Regions from separate parts of the Homo sapiens genome. Here region 1 is linked to region 2. The links are contacts of gene promoters, found by promoter capture Hi-C in blood cells and fetal thymus (Javierre and others, 2016). All regions are on one chromosome and are shown on one strand. Each heading gives the region's core, a stretch centred on a gene start or on the middle of the fragment in contact. The rest is flanking DNA. Distances are from core to core; before and after follow the strand shown. Region 1 has its middle 3.5 kb from the start of OR52A5. Region 2 holds the start of OR52E4 (olfactory receptor family 52 subfamily E member 4).

Region 1 (4,482 bases), core at 289-2,788, 740 kb after region 2:
TAAGATCAATTTATTTTACTGTCTTTTCTTAGTAACAAAAGAGTAGTATAAACAAACACCAAACAGCTATTACATTTGCTTTTCATAGTAATATTGGCTAGCCATATGGGAGTTATTTACTGGGTATTCTAGGCTTGAAGAAATGAGAAAAACTGTTGAGGATAATGGAGGATAATTTTTATACTTGTGAAGAAAATAATTACTTGTAAGTAAAGTATTGAGACTAGAAAGAATCTTGAAGGTTTGGATTCCAATTGCAATTGCAAGTATGGATTCATTGTTTTTAATAAAGAGAGATACAAACATATGCAAATGTAATTATATAATTGTGTGTGTGTGTGTGCATGTATTTCCTCTGTTCACTTATAGGAACCAAAAGCAATGAACAAACAATGGCAATGAATAAACAATCCTTGTTTCAAGATACTGATTTTCTTAATAACTTTGTTCACAGAAAGAGACCAGGGCTTTTCGGAAAAATATCTGTTTCTGTGGCTTGAGCTGAAAAAGCATAAAGTAATTTGAAATGATGATGCAGAGATAGAAAGTAAGGAAGTACTCAAAGCATGATTGGAACATGTGGAAAGGACCCAAGATCTGGTTGGAAGGAGCTCCTTATGGCAAAATTTAGAAAATTTTGAGCATCAAAATAAATAATTATGGCAAAGGATTATAGCCCATTGAATAAAATCAGATTCTGTGAATCTATACAAACATAAGTAAAGCAATACAAATTTGGGAAAAGGGAATGTTCTTCTTTACAGTGTAATGCCAATAAATAAATAGGAAAGGTATGATGGATTTAAAAATTCATAAACAGAATAAAAAAACTCATGAGTGAAAGTGTTCAGAGGAGTGGACTATTTAAATCGTCTCAATAAATATATTTTTTCACAGATTTCTATGAAATACAAAGAGAAAAATAGCAACTTACCAAGAATCCAGAGTGACATCCCATTAACCAAGTGACTGAAACTAACCACATTAATATTAGAACATATCAGCATCATGTGATTAATGATATGGTGAACAGAGAAAGGCTATATTATTCTGCGATATTAAAAACAAACAAGCAAAACAGCATAGCCTGAATCCTAGTCATGAGGAAACACCAAAGAAACTTAAAATGATGGAAATTCTAAATAGTAAATGGATGTTCCTCAAAAATTCCACTATCAAGAAAGCGAAAGAAAAAAATTAAGAGGGAGGCAGTTTGGGGCTCTATAGAAAGAAGACCTCGTTGACTCTGGAAGCTGTCCTGCGATGTGGCACACTATCTCAGAAAAAAAACAAAAAAGAGAGGGAGAGAGTTTTCTGTCATGGGAAGGTTTCAGGCAGAGATCAAATGGTAACTTTAAAGATGATATAAAGGGATGAGATTTCTGATATTGTAGATAGTGTGGATTAACTCTAGGAGGGAGTGTAAATCTAGACTCCTAAATCCCTTAGTAGTTTTAGATCCTTGGAATTAGCTTGTATCAAAACTGGAGTGGTAGTTATTCAGGGTTTATTCACAGATCCAAGATATGAAAGAAAAGCTGAGGAGGTTTTGAAAATTCAAGAAGTCTAAAGAGACACGAAAATTAACTGCACTAGGTATTCCTGGATTGAATTCTGAAAAAAGAAAATATAGCTATAGATGTCATTGTTGAGACTATTGTCTAGCTTTAAACATGGACTTTATATTAGGTTATAATTTTATTTCAATGCTAACTGTCCTCATCTTGGTTATAATACCATAGTTATACAATGTAATGTCTTTTCCTTAGGAAATACAAACTTTAAAATTTAGATATAAAGGGTAACCATGTCTTCAATTTATTTGTAAACCATTCAGAAAAAAAAAATACTCCTTTTGCCTACCTACTGAACTAGTGATAAAGTACAATGGGGCAAAATATGAACAATTTGTGATAATGGGTACATGTGAATCTTTGTATACATGTTATAAGGGGAGCTGAGGCAGGAGAATAGTTTGAACCTGGGAGGTGGAGGTTGCAGTTAGCTGAGATTGCACCATTGCACTCCAGCCTGGACAACAGGGTGAGACTCTGCCAACAACAAAAAAGATTTTTCTATTATTTTATTGTTTTTTCATTAATATACTTTGGTTTTTGGATAAAATTTAGGTTTACAGAAAAACTGAGTAGAAAGTACAAAAGATTTCCATATATCCTTTCTACCCAGAATAAAGGTTTTGCATTTACATTTGAGCTATGCTTCCTTCTTGGTTATCAAATTACATCACCATATTTATTTATCATATCCTAATGTTTGAAAACATATATCTAGTGGTTTTTTTGTATAGTCTGTGTATACCATGCTAAGCCAATTATTATTTTTAATTGTGATATAATTCACATTCCAAATAATTAACCTGCTAAAGGTGTACAAGTCAGTGGATTTAGTATAGTCAGAAAATAATGCAACTATTACCACCCTGTAATTTCAGAACTTTTTTTTTTCCTTATTGAGATGGAGTCTCGCTCTGTCACCCAGGCTGGAGTGCAGTGGCATGATCTTGGCTCACTGCAACCTCCAGGTTCAAGTGATTTTCCTGCCTCGGCATCCCAAGTAGCTGGGACTACAGGCATGTGCCACCATGCCCAACTAATTTTTACAATTTTTGTTTGTTTGTTTTATGTATAGACAGGGTTTCACTATGTTGGCTAGGCTGCTCTCGAACTAATGACCCCAGGTTATCTGCCCACCTCAGCCTCCCAAAGCATTGAGATTACAGGCATGAGCCATCACACCCAGCCTCAGAACATTTTAATCACACCAATAATGAAATTCCATACCCACTGGCAGTCACTCCCCATTTCTTCCTGCTTCCAGATTCTGGTAATCACTCATCTACTTTCTGTCCCTATGGATTTGTGTATTCTGGATACTTCATATAAGTGGGTTTATACCACATGTTGCCTTTTATGTCTGGCTTCTTAGCGTAATCTTTTCAAGGTTCATTGATGTTTTAGCATAAGTCAGAACTTCATTTATCTTTGTGATTAATAGTCCATCATATAGATGACTCTACTTTTGAACTTAGTAGGTAATTCTCTGGCCAATATAAGCTTTTCCATGATCCCTTCTTTTTTTGCGTGGTAAAGACATCCATCTTAATTTGTAAAATTCTACATGTCATATACATATGGTCAGGCCTTTGTATTTTAAATTTTCGTATTTCATTAAAACATTTATTTTCACTAGATGAATTTTATCAACCATCCATAGTAAAAGCTATTCAAATTTTGTTTCTGTTGTATTTTAACTCAAATGCCTTGTTTCTGCTTTTCTCTGAAAAACGTGCAGATAGGAGTCTATTTTAAAAAACGCGTTTTATTTCCTATTACATTTTTCAGGGGTATACATTTCCATTAAAATGCTTATGCAAACCATTGTTTTTATTTATTAGCATGAGTACTAAGGATCCATATCAGTCACCAAAGTAGTGAGTCACATTGCGTCTAAAACAGATGTTTTCCCCATTGTTCCAATGGGTTTTAACTAAATAGTATCTAGTAATATTTTTTTCTCTAGTATTCTATAGCATTGTGATTCCTTGAGGTTCACATATTTTTTTGCATGTTTCCAAAAGTATCTTTGGAGCCATTCAGTAGGTCTATATTTGTTAGTTACTCTATAAATAATAAAGTAGTATTTAGATTTCAGAAGTGTACAGATTTTACCTGAGCCTACTTCATATCTATCTGAAAAGTATTTATCTTACTTTTCCTGAAAATATTTCATTTTATTTGGGGTTCATATGTTGTTATTTCTGTCAGGGATTGGCATTCTTATTTGCATTGTTTGTTCACTTTCCTGATGTAAATACTCCGGCTATGGCTGATGTCAAGCTACCAACGTGAAGTCAGTGAAAGCAAAGCTGGAAAGAGATGCTTGAAACCAGCTCTTATAGGCATGATATGAGCTGGTTCTAGTACATAACTGCTCTTAATTCAATACCATTGGTTTTTCTAGGTTGGATATAATTTTATGGGAGGTTACTGACAAGATGGAGTCACTGGCTCTTTATATGTAAAAAGAACAGGTCTCCTGAATAAGTCCAGACCCAATAAGACAGGAGAAAAGCATTGTGACTCTTGGCAAGAGCATATGTCTCAGGCAGATGCAAGAAATCCAGTCTTCAAGACTTCTAGTACTATGCAGAGAATGGGAATCTTTTCCCTCTCTCTACTTTAGGCCAAAGCTGTCAATCCCTTTTCCTTTTTCCTTTTTAATTGATGAGTAGAAATTGTATAAATCTGTGGTGTACAACATGATGTTTTGATAAATGTATACATTGTGGAATGATTAAATAGAACTGCTTATCAGTGACACGTGCATCTCACATATTTATCTTTTTTATTGTTGTGAGAACACTTAAAAACCTGCTCTTAGCAATTTTCAAGTATATATAATATGTTGATTAATTATAGTCACCTTGATGTACAATATAGCTCTTGAACTGATTTTCTCCAT
Region 2 (4,024 bases), core at 626-3,125:
ATTGAAAAAAGAACATAATGTTTGCCAGTATTGAGGAAAAGATGCCAGGCTGAAAAATCAGAGGGCAGTGGTTTTTGTGATTTCACCTGGGAGAGTCTGAGGAAATAGCTAGGATGATGTGTTGTGAGATTTACAGTCCAGAGTCAGCCCAATCTTAAGGGTGGCTGTGTCTCAACATGATACTTTGCCAGCTGAGAAAAACATTCCCAGGGAGATGGCAAAGAGGACGCTTCTCTGACAGTAAAATTCAAAGCTGCCAGCACATCCACCCTCTCACAGTTTTACCTGAATTCTTGCCTTCTTTCTGTTATAACTATATGCCACAGTAGCAGACAGTGTATGGCCAATAACCTCAAGATCATTTTTTGAGGGCAAATTATTAAGTTTGTTCTTCTCTAGATATGCACATTGACAAAGATCCCTACTGGAGTCCATCTGAAAAGACAAATTCATAACAATTAGCAATTTTTCTCTTATTGTGCTCACCAAAGTTCACATTTTGAACTTGTGATTTTTTTTACTTTGTTGGATTTTTATTTTTTTGCTGACTGTAGTAGAATATTACAGAAGTCTTCTGTGGACCTTAAAACTTTTCAGACATGGCTGGAAAACCTGCTAAACCATTTACTTGCTTGAGACCCTTGGACAGATTCTTTAACCAGATAGATCAGTTTTTTTTTCTCCTGTAAAAATGAGATGATAAATTATAACTAATGTGGTTTATTTTAATGATAAATAAGACCAATGTTTGTATAGGTGCTAGTGCATAGTGTATCCTCAACAAATTATACTTACTTATTTTATTAATGCTCCCAAATATTTTGTTTATTTAAATGCAAGATAGCTAAAATAATTCACCTGTTAGCAGAAAGAAGTTATTTCATTGTAAAAAGTCCAAATTATGTCACAGTTTGGCCTAAGATTAGATAAAGGAGGAATGGCTCAGAAGAGGCCAAAGTGAAGAAATGGCACAGAGTCAGACATTAATATTTATGTCTAGATTTTTATGGATACAAATATGACCCAATACTGCTCATTTAGAAAAGAAACAATTTTCTCCTCTTATTCTTACAGCTTTCCCAATCTTGGTGAGACCAAAGCAGTTGATGAATGGATAAAGTGGATAAATACCTTCATTCAGGCTCTTCCATAACTGTGCCATTGGCGGTTCAGTCCGGCTGATCTAGCAGGGGTATTGTGCTTACAATAAAAATGGCTTGGGGATGGTTCCATAAAGTAGTAGGGATATAGGGAACCAAGTTACAACTGGCAACATTAAATTCACTCAGACAATGAGGGAAACAGAGAATAAAACTTTACAGACCAAATATGTTAATGCCTATGTAATTGTATTTGAATATTGACATGTGATACCCACCCACCACCTTAAATAAACACATACAAAAGAAGTCTGCAATAACATCCTTTTGTCTTATTGACAACAAGTATGGCCATGCTACTATATGACTGTATTTGTGGTGTTTCGGCTGTGAACAGTGTACTCTGTGAGAATGTGTGTGTATGAGTGTATGTGTGTGTAAGAGAGAGGGGCAGAGAGAAAGGGGGGAGAGAGAGAGATACACAGACAGAAATTCTGTGCATTACTAATTGGTACACCACTGCCCTCACCAATCCCATGTGCTCTGTTGTGTTCCTCTGTGAAGAAAATGGTGCAATGGTGCTTAGGATAATTCCTCAGAAAAGTGGAAGAATCTGGCCTCTCTATCCTCATTTGCCCTCTTCTTCTCTCCTGTGTATCTTTTCACTTCTCCTGCACAAGCATTCTTACCTCTGTAATATTTCTTCTCCCAGCCCTCACTTGGAGCAGAATTGGAGCATGAGTCCAGGTTCTTAAAGACCGTGATTAGGTTCCCCTTGAAGCCTCTGAGCAACAAGCCTGCTTGGTAAAGTGGAGGCAACTTTATAGTGAGTGAGAGCATCCCTATGACCAGGCATGTCCCAGAATCCCCGAGCCTAGTCTTCGGAATCCTCTGGGCAGAAACATGGACTCGAGGGTCATTAAGTCATAGTAAGTCTTTATTCCTCTTCACTGCATCTGCAGAGAAACACCATGCTAGATATAACTCCTTAGCTCAGGGGAGCAGATGTGTTATGAAAGGATGGGAAGGGAGCTATCCTGAAGAGAGAGGAATCTGTTTGGGGAATGATGTTAATTCCGCTTCCCTCAGGAGCCATGAAAGCATTGATTTTGGACCATTAACTCTTCACAGTGTGACCATGAAACTGTTCTCAGCAACTTTTCTGTTTTAATATGTTTGTGTAAATCCTGATGTAGTTTCACAGCTGTTACAATTGAGGCTTCAAAAGATGAAGGAGAAGACATCTCAAATAGACAAATTAGACTCTGTGGTACAACTCTGTTTATTGGCAGTGTGCATGCCTGCAGATAATAGCAGCAACTTTCTTCCAACCCACCAAGATTCTCCTTCTCAGTCTATAACTAATGGTGAACAGATAGTCTTTGAAGAGAGGCTTTCATGTGTTTCAGCTCTTTTGGCAGAAAGTGAAGAAAATTCTACGTTTTCCTTATAAAACATATTATATTGTCCCTTCCAGCCAGAGCAGAGGTAGTGTTTCCTGAGAGGCTCCCTTCCTGAATGATGACATAGTAGACCCGATAGTACTACCAGGACATGCTGCAGAGCCTGGTTTTCCTGACTATAGTTAGAAATAGACTGAGGGAAAAATAAGTACATTAGACAATTAGTTGGTATTTTTTGCCTCCTAAGTTCAGACTATTTTGAGTTGTTAGCACAGAAACAGCAATGTCGTCTGTGGTCCAAGAGAGATTCTGGTTTGATCTGCCACGTTCTTGTGTTCATTACTTCTCTTTTGATTAATGAGAAAGTAACTCCTGAGGTTCCTGTTTCTCCCTCATTGTGTCCATCTTCCTTACTGTATCCACATTTATCTTCCCAAATCAAGTCTGACTCTATCCAATTTCTGCTTAAAATTCCTTCCCATGACCCCTACATTCTCCATTGTATACTGTAGACTTTATGTAATAAGGGGCAAACACCATTGTTGCCAAAGTCCTTCACTCAATACCCAATCAACTTTTTATACTTTCATTATACTACATGACTCCCGAACACACATCTTGTCTTTGATAATCAAAAGTCCTCCATATGAAATAACTTCATCTCATTTCTACTTTGCTTCAGCACTTTCTCAATTGTCCTATACTTCTTAATGACCTTTCATATGAATCAATCTGATATAATCTTTGTGTCTTTTGTATTTTCACATCAGTGTGTGCCACTATTATAACAGGCAAATTTTATTTTGTGTTGGTTTTGTGTTTTCTGTCTTCCATTATTTTATGGATTGATATTAGAGTGATGTTTAAGTCAACTTTATCCTTCAGTTCACTTAGTATAGTGCTTTGATTGTAGGAGGTGTTCTGGCATTGAATTACATTATTTTTAAAACATAAAAATTCTAGTTCTGTTAGGGTCATATCATATAATCATATATCTCCTAATTGGTCACTGTACCTACCCCTCTCCTATTCCCAAGACTATTTCACTGTGACTTCTAGAATCAATTTTTTATGAGCAGTGATATTATTTTTGGCCTTAAACCACTTCTGATGTTCTGTTTCTCTTCCTTTTGAAACAGAAACCCAGCTGTTCCCTGAGGACATTACTTCTGAAAAGTGTTGAAGGATTGGATATATTTTCCCACTATTTTCACTGTTTCCTCATGCCAAATAGCCTAAAGGCCTAGAGACTTTTTGTCTTGGACTTTTGACAGTTTGACATTATAATGCCTCGGGGAGGACCTTCTTGAGTTGAATTTACATAGGGGATTTTGAGCTTTCGGATCTGGATATCTACATCTCTCTTCATATTTGGAAAGTTTTCAGCTGTTATTTTATTAAATAGGTTTCCTTTGTCCTTTTCTTTCTCTTCTCCTTCTAGAATTCTCATAATACAAATATTTGTTTACTTAATGGCATCCCATTAAGGAACACCATTATTTCTTTACTTTTTTAAATCCT

What was found. The method cuts DNA at HindIII sites, captures the fragments that hold promoters and counts their contacts. A CHiCAGO score of 5 or more calls a contact.
Region 1: a fragment that was not itself captured here is called in contact with the fragment with the promoter of OR52E4 in region 2 in 1 of 17 cell types (monocytes); the score reaches 5.4 in monocytes.

What each region holds. Positions count from the first base shown.
Region 1 is chr11:5,139,590-5,144,071 of GRCh38, reverse strand. No RefSeq gene overlaps it. Among named protein-coding and RNA genes, the nearest start is that of OR52A5, 3.5 kb to the right of the region's middle. The HindIII fragment of the contact is 3,076 bases long and covers 1-3,076 here.
Region 2 is chr11:5,878,480-5,882,503 of GRCh38, reverse strand. It overlaps OR52E4 (olfactory receptor family 52 subfamily E member 4), which reads right to left and starts at 1,875. Exons shown (of 2, transcript NM_001005165.2): 1 at 1,790-1,875. It overlaps LOC112268071 (a long non-coding RNA gene), which reads left to right. Exons shown (of 3, transcript XR_002957231.2): 3 at 1,075-1,409. The HindIII fragment of the contact is 16,575 bases long and covers 1-4,024 here.